Regions from separate parts of the Homo sapiens genome. Here all the other regions are linked to region 2. The links are contacts of gene promoters, found by promoter capture Hi-C in blood cells and fetal thymus (Javierre and others, 2016). All regions are on one chromosome and are shown on one strand. The core of a region is centred on a gene start or on the middle of the fragment in contact, and the rest is flanking DNA. Distances in the headings are between cores, read along the strand shown. Region 1 holds the start of TGDS (TDP-glucose 4,6-dehydratase). Region 2 holds the start of ABCC4 (ATP binding cassette subfamily C member 4 (PEL blood group)). Region 3 has its middle 49 kb from the start of LINC00391. Region 4 overlaps UGGT2 (UDP-glucose glycoprotein glucosyltransferase 2).

Region 1 (4,015 bases), core at 1,373-3,872, 710 kb after region 2:
TGTAATCCCAGCACTTTGGGAAGTGAGGTGGGTGGATCACCTGAGGTCAGGAGTTCAAGACCAGCCTGGCCAACATGGTGAAAACTCATCTCTACTAAAAATACAAAAACTAGCCAGGTGTGGTAGCATGCGCCTGTAATCCCAGCTACTTGGAGGCTGAGATGGGAGAATCGCTTGAACCTGGGAAGCAGAGGTTGCAGTGAGTCAAGATTGTGGCACTGCACTCCAGGCTGGGCAACAGAGCGAGACTGTCTCAAAAAAACAAAAGTATATAAAGTAAAAATTAAACTCCCCATTTCCTCCTTTCCCTGCCCATATCTCATCCCTAAAGGTAACTTATTTTAAGAGTTTAGGGTCAATCCTTTCAAGTAAGCCACAAATACCACAAATATATGTGGTATTACAAATACCACAAATATATGTGGTATTTGTAAACCAAGGACAGGAATAAAACTGGTCCTGAAGAGAAATCATAACACAGGCCTTGAATGTTAGGCCTTTCCTATCTTTTCTTTCTTCTCAATCAACTTTGTTTTTCTCACTGTGAAGACAGGCTTTCTGGCTCCTCACTTTGAAAGAACATGGCCACCAAAAAGTTCCAGCTTTGTAGGACCTCAGAGTTCAAGTAGAGTAACCAGACTATACTAGCACCTTAGTCGAATTCTAAATCCCAAGAAGAGGCTTCAGTTGGCCTAGAGTCAGCCAGATTTCATTCTGTGGCCTGCCTGGGTCAACTTGGGGAGATCATAAAGGACAGTGGGGGGAGGAGTCTGGTCAGAAAAAAACTGTACGTATCGACTGCAATATATTTTGGTCTTCATTCCATGTTGGTATATTCTTTTTAAAGGCTATATAGCAGTTTACTGCATTTTAAAAGTTAGAAGACATTATACACATTTAGATTATTTCCAGTGTTTCATTATTGCAAGCAATACAGCAATGAACAATTATCTATATTATACATCATGGAATTTGAGGGGGTCATAGAATATGAACATTTGAAATTTTCATATGTTTTACCACTTTGCCTTGTAAAAAGGTTGTGGTATGATTCTTCCACATATACACCTGTACTGGATGTTTCCATTCGTTTTCAGCTTTGCCAAACATTATGGTGGGGAAAAAAAGATATTTATCTATTCGACAATATTTAATGGTCATTTATTCTGTGCCAAGTCTCTAAGGACATGCGATTACAGCAGAAAACAAAACAAAGCCCCTGACCTCATGGAACACTAAACAGAGGGCAGTGACATCAATGTAAATGTTGAGTGCTAGGAAGAAAAATAAAGAAGGATAAGATGATTCGGCAGGGTTGGGCAGAGCTCGCTATTTTAATTGTGGTGGTCAATAGGATGCCATTCAAGCTGAAAACGGAAGTAAGGGTAAAAACTAGGCAGACATCTGGGGAAAGACAATCAAGGTCCCGGGGAAGTAGCATGCCTGGCACATTGAATGAAGAGCAAGGAGGGTGGGGAGGCTGGGGCGGAGTGAGCAAAGGAGAGAATAGAATAAGACATCAGCGTAGGACCTAGGGAATATCTTTATCATGATTGCAAGCCTTCTGCGCTGTCTGTAATAATAATATTATTATTTTTTGAGACGGAGTTTTGCTGTTGTTGCCCAGGCTGGAGTGCGATGGTGCGGTCTCGGCTCACTGCAACCTCTGCCTTCCGGGTTCAAGCAATTCTCCTGCCTCGGCCTCCCAAGTAGCTGGGATTACAGGCGCCCGCCACCACGCCCGGCTAATTTTTGTATTTTTAGTAGAGACAGGGTTTCACCATGTTGGCCAAGCTGGTCTCGAATCCTGACCTCAGGTGATCCGCCCACCTCGGCCTCCCAAAGTCCTGGGATTACAGGCGTAAGCCACGGCGCCCGGCCTGAAATAATATTAACAACAGCAAAAGATCATTTTGCAGGCCAGGCACGGTGCTCACGCCTGTAATCCCAGGACCTTGGGAGGCTGAGGCGGGAGGTTGGCTAGATCCCAGGAGTTCGAGACCAGCCTGGACAACAGGGCGAAACCCATCTCTACCAAAAATTAGGCGGGCGTGGTGGCGCACGACTGTATTCCTAGCTACTCAGGAGGCTGAGGTGGGAGGATTGCTTGAGCCCCATTGGTCGACGCTGCAGTGAGCCGTGATCGCACCACTGCACTCCAGCCTGGGTAACAGAGGGAGACCCTGTCCCCGCCCCACTAAAAAAAAAAATCATTTTTAAATTGCAACCTCCCATCTCCATCTGCAACAACTCCCCGTTCTCAGCTCAACTGATAGGTAACCTCTAGAGATGGCTGTAGTACAAGAATGAAAAAAGGTACTCATTCATAAATCTGATCCATAGTGGTGGCATTTCCGGGAAAAACGTTCCATACCCCTACCATCCGGGCGACCCCAATTGCACCTGGCGGACCAGGCAAGGGCGGAAAGGAGCAGCGCCTGCGCGTGGTGAGCGCGGCCCCGCCCAGCCCGCTAGTGGGCGGGCAGAAACTGGCCACAGAGCAGTCTCCGGAAGCTGCCTCTGGCTGCTCTGTTAACGTGTCCCGCGAGCGAGGCGCGTCGCAAAAGGTCGCGGCGGAACTTCCCTGCGCTTTTCAGACCATACTCTTTACGGTACTAGGCACTGCTGAGCTGGGAGATGTCGGCGGCGTGTTGGGAGGAACCGTGGGGTCTTCCCGGCGGCTTTGCGAAGCGGGTCCTGGTGACCGGCGGTGCTGGTTTCATGTAGGTAATGGCGCCGCTAGCCAAGCAGTGGCTCCCCAGAAACCCCTACCTTTTCCCGCAGCTCTGCTTGCCCTAGGTAATTTGGGTCCAGCTTTGAGGGGTCCTTATTCTGATATGGGGAGGGTCCTAATGCACGACCTGGACCAGCTTTTCTCTCTCTGGCCTGCAAAGAAGTGGTTCCTTTGAAACTGACTTCTTTAAAACGCCTCTTCCAAAGCTGCGTTACTCTCCGCCCTTCTGTGGCCGGAGGTGCTCACCATGTCACTCCTTGAGTGCGTGCAAGTTACCCTAAGCTGCTCACCGACTGCTTCCCACCTCCAGCCTAGAGCACCCACACCCCACGATGGGCCCTGTACATATAGGCACCCCCAAAACGATTTAAGGACTATAATAGGACATCTATGTAATCAGCAAACTTTTACAAATCCACTGTTGACACCCTTTTCTTCCTCAGACCCACATTCGAGCAGCAAGTCCTCTCTACTTCCAAAGTATATCCTTACGGCGACCACTTCTCACCAGTTTCCCGTTTCCACCCTAGCCCATGTTTACTGTCATCTTTTGCCTCGACTGCTGCTGTAGCCTCTTGGTTGGCCATAACTGCGTCCACTCATGTTCCTTTAAAGCCTGTTGCTCACATACAAGTCAGTGTTTCTTAAGTCAATCAGATCATGGTAGAAGCAGGATTTTACTTCAGTGGTTCCTGCCACACTTAAGAATAAAGCCCAAACTCTACCATATCTAGAAAACTCAAGTGCCCAAGCCCTACTTTTGCAACCTGATCTGCTTTTCTGTACCTGCCATGCTTCCCCTCTTAGTTCTTGGAACACACCAAGATACACACTTCTGTCTTGAGGCCTTTGCACTTGCTTCCCCTTTCCTTAGGCTGTTTGCACCACTCAATTCTGGTTTTTATTCAGATAGCACCTCAGAGAGTTCTTACCTGACCACCATATCTAAAATAGCCCCTCTCCCAACTAGCACACTTAACCTCTACCTGAAATTATATTGCGGATTTGTGTCTGCTTGTTTATTGCTTGTATCCCCACTCTAAAATGCAAACTCGGTAAGGACAGAGACTACTGTTCATTCAGCACCTGGAAGAATGCCTGGCCCATTCTATATAAGTCTTTAGTAATTGTGGAATGGATGAATGCAAGAGTAATAAACAGGAAACTCTCCTATCCTCCCCTCAAGGAACTCAGTGGCTAGTGGAAGAAGTGGGAATGTGAGGATTCCTGTTTATGGCCATTTGCACATTAAATCACCCCTTCTAATCCGACAAGTCATTT
Region 2 (3,834 bases), core at 1,262-3,761:
CCCTTTGTTGCCCAGGCTGGTCTAGAACTCCTGGGCTCAAGCAATCCTCCCACCTGAGCCTCCAGGTTACATGGGACTACAGACTTACTCCACCATGCCCATCTAATTTTCACATTTTTAGTGGAGATGAGGTCTCCCTATGTTGCCCAGGCTGGTCTAGAACTCCCGGGCTAAAGCAATCCTCCTGTCTCCACCTCTCAAAGTGCTGGGATTATGGGCTTGTACAGCCTGGAGTGCAGTGGCACCTTCTTTTTTTTTTTGAGACGGAGTTTCACTCTTGTTGCCAAGCTGGAGTGCAGTGGGATGATCTCGGCTCACTGCAACCTCCGCCTCCTGGGTTCAAGTGATTCTTCTGCCTGAGGTTCCTGAGTAGCTGGGATTACAGGCATCCACCACCACACCCAGATAATTTTTTGTATTTTTAGTAGAGATGGGGTTTCACCATGTTGGCCAGGCTGGTCTCGAACTCCTGACGTCAGGTGATTCACCTGCCTCAGCCTCCCAGAGTGCTAGGATTATAGGCGTGAGCCATTGTGCCCAGCCCAGTGGGCACCTTCTTAACTCCTTGTAGCCTGGAACTCCTGGGCTAAAGCCATCCTCCTGTCTCAGCCTCTCGAGTAGCTGGGACTACAAGGGTACGCCACCACACCTGGGCTAATTTTTAAAACTTTTGGTAGAGACAGAGCCTCACTATGCTGGCTAGCCTGTGCTTGACTTTTAAATATGTGTTTGTGTAAGGCTTTCTTTAAAAGCTATTAACTATACTATTTTAGCAAATATACATGGGAAATTATCAAGGAACAATAAAATGATCTTGTTCCAAGCACCATGAACTTGGAGCCTTTCATTTTTTTTCATTCAGGGTGGATATGAAGAGCAGCTGCTGACCTTGTTAAGGTAGCCACAGAAATGACTGAAGACTTAGAGGTGGGAGTACACAAGCTTGGAACAAGATTTTGTTCATTCATTCCTACAGCCATTCAACCAGCATATTCTGGGCACTTCTCATGCACACTGGCCATCCACCAGGGAGACAGGCCATGCTTAGACATAGGCTTATTGCAAATCATGTTTTATCCTTTCTTGGCTCTAAGACTGGACAAGTTCTGCCTTTCAGCTTCACCTTCCTCATCTATAAAGTAAGGATAACCTTGAATGGGGCACTGATAGAATTAAAAGTGAGATAATTGGTCGGGCGTGGTGGTACATGCCTGTAATCCTAGCACTTTGGGAGGCCACGGTGGGAGGATCACTTGAGCCTAGGAGTTTGAGACCAGCCTGGGCAACAAAGTGAGAAATTATCAAGGAACAATAAAATGATCTTATTACAAAGAAAACCAAATTCTCAAACATGCATGAAATATGAAGAAAATAAACCTCCATGACAATCATTTGGCTTCAAAAATTATCAGTATTTGAACTTGGAGCCTTTGATTTTGATTTTTGCATCTCTACAAAAATTACAAAATATGAGCCGGGTGTGGTGGCGGGTGCCTGTAGTCCTAGCTACTTAAACTGAGTTGGGAGGATTGCTTGAGCCCTGGGAGGTCGAGGGTGCAATGAGCCATAATCGTGACACTGTGTGTGAGACTGCCACACACACACACACACACACACACTAGTGAGGCTACGCACTCAGAAATGCACATGAACATCACTGGTATTCTGGAACCCACGTGTCGTTTGCCACTGTTATCTGTTAGGCTTTAGGGCTTGACGACAGAAATCATCAGGCAGTCTCTCTTTCCTCTTATATTCCTTTCCCAATCTAAGGGGGCAGCAAAAAGCTCAGAGGTCCACCGTAGCATGCAACATGTGAGATGCCTAAAGCCCGCCCCCATCGACGACAGCATTCATCCATCTCCCGAATTCATCTGGGTCATACTCTCGAGTTACCCGGCTTTCTTGAGGTCTTGCAGCTCTACAAGGATAATCTGTGGCTAAACTTTGCTGTCGTCCAAGGTCAAATGTTTGGCTCACAGGTTGAAGAGCCTCCCATGGCACCGTCGTTTGGTCCTGAGAAGGGAAAGGCGCCCAGGGGGCGGGCTGCTAGAGCACGAGGCAGCTGTCTCCCAGTCTTCCCAAACCCGTAGCCGAGGGGGCGTTTCTGCGGCGCAGGGGCGGGCACAGCCGACGCCTCCCTGCTCCACCTTCTGTGTCGGCGCCTAGACTCGGATAGTGAATTTCGGAAAGTTTCACTCGGGTTCGTGCACGTGGGCACCTCCGGACCCGGCCTCCTTGCCGCGCGCTCTGCTACCCTCTCCATCCAGCGGCGCAGGCGGCCCTCGCCTCACCCCTGGGCGTAGCTCTGGGCTCCCTTTGGCGTCGCCAGCTTCGCCTCCTCCCGCCGCGTCTCCTCCCGCCGCGTCACCCGTCGGTCCCGGCCGCGCTCGCACGCGGTGCGCAGCTCCCGGGCTCCAGGCGGCGGCGCGTAGCGGGCGCCCCCGAGGCGGCGGGCCTGAGAGGCGGGGACGGGGCGTGCCGCCGGCGCCCGGCTCCCGGAAGCGGCTGCTTCACAGGCTCCAGCCGAGCGGACAGGCGTGGCGGCCGGAGCCCCAGCATCCCTGCTTGAGGTCCAGGAGCGGAGCCCGCGGCCACCGCCGCCTGATCAGCGCGACCCCGGCCCGCGCCCGCCCCGCCCGGCAAGATGCTGCCCGTGTACCAGGAGGTGAAGCCCAACCCGCTGCAGGACGCGAACCTCTGCTCACGCGTGTTCTTCTGGTGAGTGTCCCCGCCCGAAACAGGTCACCCTGCAGCCGCTGGCGCCGCGGACGCACTCTCCCGGGGCCGCGCCCGATGCTGCCCAAGCCCTCTGCGGCTGGGGGCGAGGGGAGCGCTTTCCTACGCCACGCGGTCCACGCCGGGGCTTTCTGCTGCGGGTGGCGCCGCCCCCACGCCGGCCGCGTGGTCCCTGCCTGCGCCCCGGGGCGCGGCGCAGGGGGACGCGGGGACGCGGGGCCAGTGGCTTTGCTACTGGAGGCCCTGCGGGCCCTTAGGGCTCGGGGGAGGAGGAGCAGGAGGTGGGGAGGCGGGGAACCCAGGCTGCCGAAAGGGGGAGTCTCTTGCCCAGCGGGAGAAGCGACTGCACCCCTTACACGCCCACCCTTCGCTGGCTCCCGCCTCCTGCTCTGGGACTCGCAGTCTCCTGAACTCAAACGCACCTTTTCCTTTCTTTTTAAGTAAGCAGCTTACGAACAGTTTCCTTTATCTGATCTCAGCCAAAGCCTAATTAGTGTCCTGGACCTATGCCATCTCCCAGTAGTGTCCCCACCCCTTCCGATATTCCTTACGAGACAGCTCGATCCAACTCCACGTCCCGTTGTACCTCTCTGTGTCCCGGTGTCTCTGTATCTTTTGTCTCAGTGACCAGGGCTCTCCTTTTGCCTCTTTGTGGGAATCTCACTGTGTGTCCATGTGGGTCGTGGTACCTAGTTATGGCAAGTTTCATGTGGGTAAAATAACACTATTATTATTTTTCATTTATGAATGGGGACCCTGTTCTTGAACAAGATTTTCCAGGATTTGCTTTTAACTGGGACATGCACCGCCACGACTGGAGTCTGTCTTTGACCAGCTTCTTTCCCCTGTTTCCAATACTTTCACTTCCACGTAGGAGGACAGCTCGGAGGTGGGGTCCCTGGAATCGCTAACCTTCAGAGAGGTGATCCATGGTCTTGATGCAGGTGGTTCCTACCAGGAGTTCTACCTTCTTAAAACCACCCCAGGGCTCCTGAGCTGGGAGGGCCCACAGCCCTACCCATTTTGTGCAAGGAAACAAACGGAGAAAGACTCGGGTGACAGTAGTAACTAAAATTTCCATCTTGGCCTGGCGCG
Region 3 (3,949 bases), core at 983-3,482, 640 kb after region 2:
TTTGCTATTTTCTTGTTAGGCTTTGGGTTTAGGAGAATTTAGATAACAAAGTTGGCTAATTCAGGACTGAACACACATTGGACTCTGCAAATATACCACCCGCTACATGATAAGGGCAGGGCCCAGCTTCTGGGCTGCACCTGCTGTGATGCTGTGGGAACAGCTGCTTCTGGAAGCAGGTAGTGGGAACAGCTATTACTTCAAAGCCCACAATAATCCTTTCGCAATTAAAACAAGAAAGGGATGTTTACAGGCATTTGATCGCTTTAGGTGGAGATATGAGTTTGCTTACAAAGATTGAATTCCAGTTCTGGTGTGCTGTGCCTGCTTAAAGTTGACTAATGACGACTTAAAATAATGAAACTGCAGTCATTTTCAAAAGTTAAGTCATTCTTTTTGCACAAAATGGCTTAACGATCCCCCCTAGTGGCCTGACTCTTGTTACTATGATTTGTGAATACTCTCCTTTCCAAAACTGCCCTATTGGTTTGTTTATAGGTTCATAGCAAAGAAACTGCAGATAAAACCAAAGTCAGATCATTTAGAATTGAACTGAGCTTCCACTAAATTCCTCCTTTTTTGCTCCTAGACAGTGGCTATTGCTCTTAGAGCAATCAGACTAAAGATTCCCACAGAGCCAGCTTTATATCTTGAGGGTTTTCTTAAAACTGATGAATAAACTCAGGTTTCCCACGTTCACACTTCCATTGCTGAAATCAGTGAATAGCAGGGTGTAATGCACTCTATCTTTTCAATATTGCTGGTGGTAGATTTGAGTTTCTGAAGGGAAAATGAGTAAATCATAGAAATGTTCTATGTCTTGTTTTCAGGTAGGTTTGGCCCAAACTGGATTATTTCAATCCTTTGGGATAGAATTATCTTTAAATGATTGAAAAACCCTATATGTTTTTCAAGTGTAACCTCCAAGAAAATGCCTGGTCATCATTGCCACGCCAGTGTTTAATCCTTTTTCTTCACTCTGCATACAAAGGGTGGGCCATCCATTTACTTCAGTGTTTACAGGTGAGATGAACTCTCTTCTGCTTCCTTCAAGGCCCCTGTGGACACCCAAGGGAGGCTGTAACTGAGCTGAAGCCATCTGAATATTTTAAGCTCAGAACATGGAGACAGGGAGAGATTTCCAAACCCGAAGGCTAACTTCTTTTCCTTTGACCACGTTGCCAGTCACATTCCTCTTCTGGAGTATGTAGTTTTGGAATCTAGCACTTCCATTCATCATGGAAGGGGCTATACAGTTTTCCCCCTTAATAGCTCACATGGAAACACTATCAAGATTTCTTACATTACTGGAATATTAAAGAATATTAGATATGTACTAAATGTGCATCTACAAAAAATAGTGCAAAATAATCCTAAAGCCCTAAATCCTGACCTGCAAGAAGCTTATGTTAGAAAAAAGTAACATCAAAATGAATCCATTGCCAACCTCTGCACTTCAGCCTTGAAAACTTCCAGACCTTTCAGTCCTGTTTTCTTCCACATATTTAGACTATTTCCTTCAAAATCACTTGGATATGACTTCATTTCCTTCCTTTCAGTTTCTGCAATCTCCATCCTGGTCCACAAAATCATCATTTCTTGCTACAAATATCTCTAGGAGCCCTAGTACCTACTTTTATTTATGGATTAATTAATCTTAAACCCAGTGGCAAGAAATTTTTCCCTAACCATGCAACTTTCCTTCTTAGAAATCTGCTCTAGTTCCCAATTACATAATCATGAAACTTAATCTCCTTAGCTTTTAGGATCCCTAAAATGACCAGCCTTTTCAATCAATCAGTTAGTAATGTAATTGTCATTTCCTCTATCTGCTAGCTTTCCTTTCCCACCCTAGTTAGTTAAACCTGTTTGTACTTCCTTGAACCACCACTTGGGATTTTGCACATACTCAGACCTCTCCTGCGTAGGCAGATCAACCCTGAAGCTAACAAATCTTAAGCTTCAGGGCCTTGCTTGCACCAGCTAAGACCTTATGCCTAACTTTGCATTTGTTTTCTTAAGGAGGACCCTTATATAAATTGTATAAGCTTCACTTCCCACAAAATCAAGATCCACTCCAGGCTTTCTCCTTTATTATTTCACCTAGGTGTGGACATCTACTCAGTTCAGAATGTTCTTAGGATATACACACATGCCTGTTCATTCTCTCTCTCTCTCTCTCTCTCTGAACTATGTATTGCACTTGTGTCTGTTATCAGTTTTAGGAGCCTGAGGGTTTTCCTCCCTCCAATTGTGCTATCTTTCCCATTAGATGATATCATAAGCCATTCTAAAGTAGGGACTATTTCTTATTTATATTCTGTAAGAGTACTGAGTACCAGAATATAAGAGCATTGGTTTAATATTTTAACATATTGAACAAACATGTTTACCAACTGCTTCTTGAGGAAGCTTGAAAATGGTTTACTTATAAGTGTCTATTTTAAAAATTATTAGAGGCTAAACCTATAATTTCACAATAGCAAGATCATTCAAATAGAAATCAAAACAAACATTCATAGAACATGTTCATTGCTGTATCTTTAACCCTAGCATGGGCGGGTAATAAATACTTTTTGAGGCCACATGCAGTGGTTTATACCTGTTATTCCAGCGTTTTGGGAGGCTGAGGTGGGAAGATTGCTCGAGCCCAAGAGTTTGAGACATGCCTGGCCAACAAGGTGAAACCCCATCCCCACTAAAAAAAAAATACAAAAATTAGCAGGGCCTGGTGGCAGGCACCTGTAATCCCAGCTACTTGGGAGGCTGAGGCAGGAGAATCGCTTGAACCTGGGAGGTGGAGGTTGCAGTGAGCCCAGATCACACCACTGCACTCCAGCCTGGGCAATAGAGCGAGACTTCATCTTGAAAAACAACCAACCAAACAAACAAACAAATAAACTTTTTGAATAAATTATACATAAGTCAGGACTTGGAGTGAGAACAGAGAGACTTTCTCATTGGTTTATGTAACTGAAAAGCCAGAGGCTTTCACTGGCTCCCGGCACAGCTGGATCCAGAAATCAGTCTCTTCCCCCATTTGGTGCTTCTTTCTTCTGCATTGAATTCACCCTCAGGCAGGTCTACTTCATGCAGTTGCATGATGACCTTCAGCACCTCTAAGCATCCTATTGGTTCAGAAGCCACAGAATAAAAAATCAAAACAAAACTTTCCCAAAATTTCCAACAAAAGTTGCAAAATTGAGTCTCACTGGGCTGACCTTAGGCACAACCTAAGTCATGTGTCCCTGCTGACCTGTGCTTAGAATAGACATGCAACTTTGGGGATGGGGAGGGGAGTGAACCTCATTGAGACTATGGATTGAGAGAGTGGTTAGAGGTGATTCTCTAGAGGGAAATTGAGATGCTGCTTCCAAAAGAAGGGAACAGATGCTGGGTAGGCAAAAATGGCCATACCTGCCTCCTGGCCCTCACGTAGCTTTTGATCTAGTTGGAGAGGAAAAGACAAACGCCTGAAAAACTAAATAACAATATAAATAGATACGTAATAGATATGTAAGTAGTATTGCACAGCAAACAAATGGTGCACTCACATGTGTGAGTAGGAATGAGATCATCCTGAAGAAGTCCTTAAAAACGAATTCTAAAAAGCACCTATATAAAGTATCTTTGTCATTCTAGGCCACTTCCATTTCTTTACAGAAAAAAATGACGAATACTTAAAAAGAAACAAAAATTTCTATAAATTGATGGTTGGGGTATAATTTGGTAGAACCACTGTAGAAAATAGTTGGGGATTACCTCGTAAGGTTGAATATATGTGTCGTCTGTGACCCAGTGGCCCCACCCGTCAGTGTATGTCTTAGAGAATTGCTTTCATAAGTGTACAAGAATATCCAATGTCTTTATCATCAGCACTGAACATAGTCACAAGCCAGAGGTTGCGCCAGACATGCACAGCTGTGTCATTAGCCACTGTGTTCCATGC
Region 4 (3,780 bases), core at 544-3,043, 540 kb before region 2:
GTATATAACCATTTGAGTTAGTAGCTTAGATAATATGGTAGGCCAGGTTATTTAAGGAAGGGATTCCAAGGAACTAAGGGTGTCAGAAGGGACAGTTAAGGTTTTTCTTTCTTTGATTAACGGACTTTATTTTTTTAGAGCAGTCTTAGGTTTACAAAAAAAATGAGCAGAAAGTATGGGTAATTTTCTATTTCTGGGCTCTTTATTGTGTTCCATTGATGTATTTGTCTCTTATTTTTCCAATACCACACTGTTTTGATTACTGTAACTTTATAGTAAGACTTCAAGTGTGGTAGTGTCAGCCCTCTGACTTTATTCTTCAATATTGTGTTGGATATTCTGGATCTTTTCCTTTTTCCCTAAACTTTAGAATCAGTTGGCCAATCTCCACAAAATAACTTGCTAAGCCTTTGATTGGGATTGTGTTAAGTCTATAGATAAATCTGGGAAGAACTGTTATCTTGACTATGGAGTCTTCCTATGTGTGAACATAGAATATCTCTTCATGTATTTCAGTGTTCTTTGATTTCTTTCCTCAGAATTTTGTAGTTTTCATTTTGTTGAGGAACATATTTTATTAGATTTATGTTTAAGTATTTCTCTTTTTCGGTGCTAATGTAAATGGTGTGTTTTCTTAAATTTCAAATTATGTTTGTTCATTGCTGGTATATAGAAAAGCAGTTGACTTTTGTATATTAACTTTTTATCTTGTAACATTGCTAAAATTGCTTATCAGTTCCAGAAGTTTTTTCCCTTGATTCTTGGGATTTTCTGCATAAACAATCCTGTTATCACAAACAGTGACAGGTTTTTTTCCCTTCCCAATCTATATACATTTTCCTTTTCTTGTCTTATTGCATTTGCTAGGACTTTCAGTGTGATGTTTAATAGGGATGTTGAGAGAAGAACCTTAAAATTGTGAATCTTGGAGCTTATGTAGGACAACCAGCACAAGTACCCTTCATACTCTTGGAGAGAGAGGAACATGCCTTTGCTCTTGAATATAAGCAGATCTTCTATAGGGAAAGGAAGGGAAGGACTCCACCCCTGGAATATAAACAAATATCTCTGGGGAAGATTTGTCTGATTCTCTCCAAAGGTCTCTAACTTACTAGGCTAGTTTGCCAGTCAAACATCCATTAACCCAGATGCCAGCAATCTTTACTTAGAGAGCTCTGAGCATGCAGAAATGGGAAAATATTCATGGATCATTGTTTCCAATGGGGAGATGAAAATTCACCTCAGAATCCAGAGAGCATTGTGGTGACCAATATGAACAGTAATTGCAGGCATAATGTGAGCAATAGAGGCAGATAGAGGTAGTGAGGCTGTCCATTGTGGGGACTATTGAATGGTAGGTTTCTATGCCTCCTTCTTCATCCTTGTTCCCAGGGGTAGAGTCTAGGAGAGATGTAGGTATATTCCAGTGCATGGATTCATTCATGACACAAGATGATTGGATCACCTTAGGTATTTTAAGCTTTAAAGTGTAGAGAAATCTCAGATTTGCATATGTTTTATGATCTGTTTACAGTCTAACTGATGTCTTACTTCATTCAGCTTCTTTCCTTCTGACTCTAAATTTCATACGTCTATGATTAAATCACAATTTTCTGTAGGATCTCCCCAATAATATGATTTACCAAGTCGCCATTAAGTCTCTTCCTCAAGACTGGCTGTGGTGTGAAACCTGGTGTGATGATGAATCCAAACAAAGAGCCAAAACAATTGATCTGGTGAGTGTCTTTGTTTTCATTTGTATGTAAGCAGATACAGAAATGTTTAAATAGAAATATTTTCTTTCTGTTTTACAAAGGGAGTGGCATACGTATTACTTCGCTTCTTCTGCTGTTCAGTCTATTACACATTTACTTAGGTTGGCAAGTATAGGGTTATTTTGGGGGCCCCCAAGACCACCCTGAGGTTTGATGATTCACTAAGGAGATTCATGAGATGCAAAATATAATCATATTCATGGCTTGATTTATCACAGTGAAAGGATATAAAGCAAAGTCAGCAAAGGGAAAAGGCACATGGGGCAAAGAGAAAATCAGGTGCAAGATTCCAAGAGTCCTTTCTCTGTGATATCACACGGGACAAGCTTCATTCCTCAAGCAATAAGAGATTCCACAACCAGTGTGAAGTATTACCTACTAAGGACATTTATTAGAAACCCCAGTGTCCAGGGGTTTTACTGGGGGCTGGTGACCATATAGCACTGTCTGCCTGAGACACACCTAAATTTCCAGCACTCAGGAGGAAAGCAAGTGTTTAGCATAAACACCTTTGCACAGATAATTTAGACACAGTGAGTTACTCTTATAAAGGAATGGTGAGAACCATCCTGAACCCTGTGTTCCCAGATGCCAGCGAGGAGCCAAACTTACAAGCAGGTCTTTCTAAGAATAGCAATTTCAGGCTTTCTGTATTAACTCTTTTCTGCAAAAGGACTTTTGAAAAAAAGGCTTAGAGGGCTGGGCACGGTGGCTTACGCCTGTAATCCCTGCACTTTAAGAGGCCGAGGCAGGTGGATCACCTCAGGTCAGGACTTCGAGACCAGCGTTGCTAACATGATGAAACCCCATCTCTACTAAAATTACAAAAAATTAGCTGGGCGTGGTGGCACATGCCTGTAGTCCCAGCTACTCAGGAGGCTGAGGCAGGAGAATTGCTTGAACCTGGGAGGCAGAGGTTGCAGAGAGCGGAGATGGCGCCACTACACTCCAGCCTGGAGACAAGAGCAAAACTCCATTTCAAAAAAACAAACAAACAAAAAAAAAGGGCTGAGAGCTAGCTGAAAATGTTTGTGGATTAGCTATCATCTTGACATGTCTTCAGTTTAGTTATCCTGCCAATATTTTCCCCCAAATAAAGGCAAACAAGACAATTTTGTCTACTTAAAATATATCATACATGCTTTTTTCTTACTTATTTTTAAGAGATTATTTTTCCTAGATTTTCATTTAAAGCAGTTTATGCTGTGCAGTTTAACTCTCCTAAACATAAAATATTTCAAAGTAATTTATTTGTTGTCCATTTAGATTTTATATTCCACTACTACCTTGTCTTTAGTAGGTATAATAAGTTTTTTTCCTAGTATATTGTTTTTAATGTGCTAAGTGTAGAAAATTGTTTACAAGATCTTCACTGACGAATAAGCTATTAAAATGTTAGAATTCACACAATTTTGAACAAAAAAGAGCAGGAAAACAAAATATAGGAACTTTTTCAGACATGTATAGAAATACATATTTTAAAAATAGCATGCCAGCATGTTAGAATGTAATCATAGTTGGTAGAATATAGCAGAAACAAATAAAAAGGCATTTTTAAGAGGTAAGCAAGGGAATTTCATAAAGAGAGGCCAAGAACATTATTGAACACAACTACTAATATGTTGTTAGGGTTCTGTTGTGGCTCATACAGTAGTGGTGTAGGTCATTTTGGGATCTTTAGTACTTAGACTAACATGAGCTACCATAACAAACCCCCAAAATTCAGTGGCTTCATACTCATTCCAGCAGCAGACCTAAGTGGATATCTCCGTCATTGAGTAGCCCTCCTGTGTGCCATGTCTCAGGGAGTACTTTTTGTCCACCTGTAACTGCTTCTTCCAGTGCAGTAGCCACTTGCCTTATGTGGCTGTTGAGCCCTTAACATGTTGCTATTCTGAATTGAGATGTGCTGTAAGGTATAAAGTACACACCAGATTTTGAATACTCAATACAATGAAAATAACATATATCTCATTACTAATTTTTGTATTGATTACATGTTGAC

The links. The method cuts DNA at HindIII sites, captures the fragments that hold promoters and counts their contacts. A CHiCAGO score of 5 or more calls a contact.
Region 1: a contact is called between the fragment with the promoter of TGDS here and the fragment with the promoter of ABCC4 in region 2, in 2 of 17 cell types (non-activated CD4 T cells and activated CD4 T cells). The highest score is 6.1, in non-activated CD4 T cells.
Region 3: a contact is called between a fragment that was not itself captured here and the fragment with the promoter of ABCC4 in region 2, in 1 of 17 cell types (erythroblasts). The highest score is 5.8, in erythroblasts.
Region 4: a contact is called between a fragment that was not itself captured here and the fragment with the promoter of ABCC4 in region 2, in 2 of 17 cell types (endothelial precursors and M2 macrophages). The highest score is 8.4, in endothelial precursors.

What each region holds. Positions count from the first base shown.
Region 1 is chr13:94,594,759-94,598,773 of GRCh38, reverse strand. TGDS (TDP-glucose 4,6-dehydratase) reads left to right here and starts at 2,622. Exons shown (of 12, transcript NM_014305.4): 1 at 2,622-2,723. The coding sequence starts at 2,638. RefSeq lists an enhancer at 2,449-2,758. The HindIII fragment of the contact is 5,991 bases long and covers 1-4,015 here.
Region 2 is chr13:95,300,128-95,303,961 of GRCh38, reverse strand. It overlaps ABCC4 (ATP binding cassette subfamily C member 4 (PEL blood group)), which reads left to right and starts at 2,511. Exons shown (of 31, transcript NM_005845.5): 1 at 2,511-2,721. The coding sequence starts at 2,648. LOC102724149 (a long non-coding RNA gene) reads right to left here and starts at 3,011. Exons shown (of 3, transcript XR_429273.4): 1 at 2,699-3,011; 2 at 1,636-2,016. RefSeq lists silencers at 2,006-2,065, 2,246-2,305, 2,336-2,975 and an enhancer at 1,792-2,566. The HindIII fragment of the contact is 3,485 bases long and covers 945-3,834 here.
Region 3 is chr13:94,657,352-94,661,300 of GRCh38, reverse strand. No RefSeq gene overlaps it. Among named protein-coding and RNA genes, the nearest start is that of LINC00391, 49 kb to the left of the region's middle. RefSeq lists an enhancer at 32-533. The HindIII fragment of the contact is 364 bases long and covers 2,051-2,414 here.
Region 4 is chr13:95,835,042-95,838,821 of GRCh38, reverse strand. It overlaps UGGT2 (UDP-glucose glycoprotein glucosyltransferase 2), which reads left to right. Exons shown (of 39, transcript NM_020121.4): 37 at 1,620-1,736. Among named protein-coding and RNA genes, the nearest start is that of DNAJC3, 160 kb to the right of the region's middle. The HindIII fragment of the contact is 621 bases long and covers 1,483-2,103 here.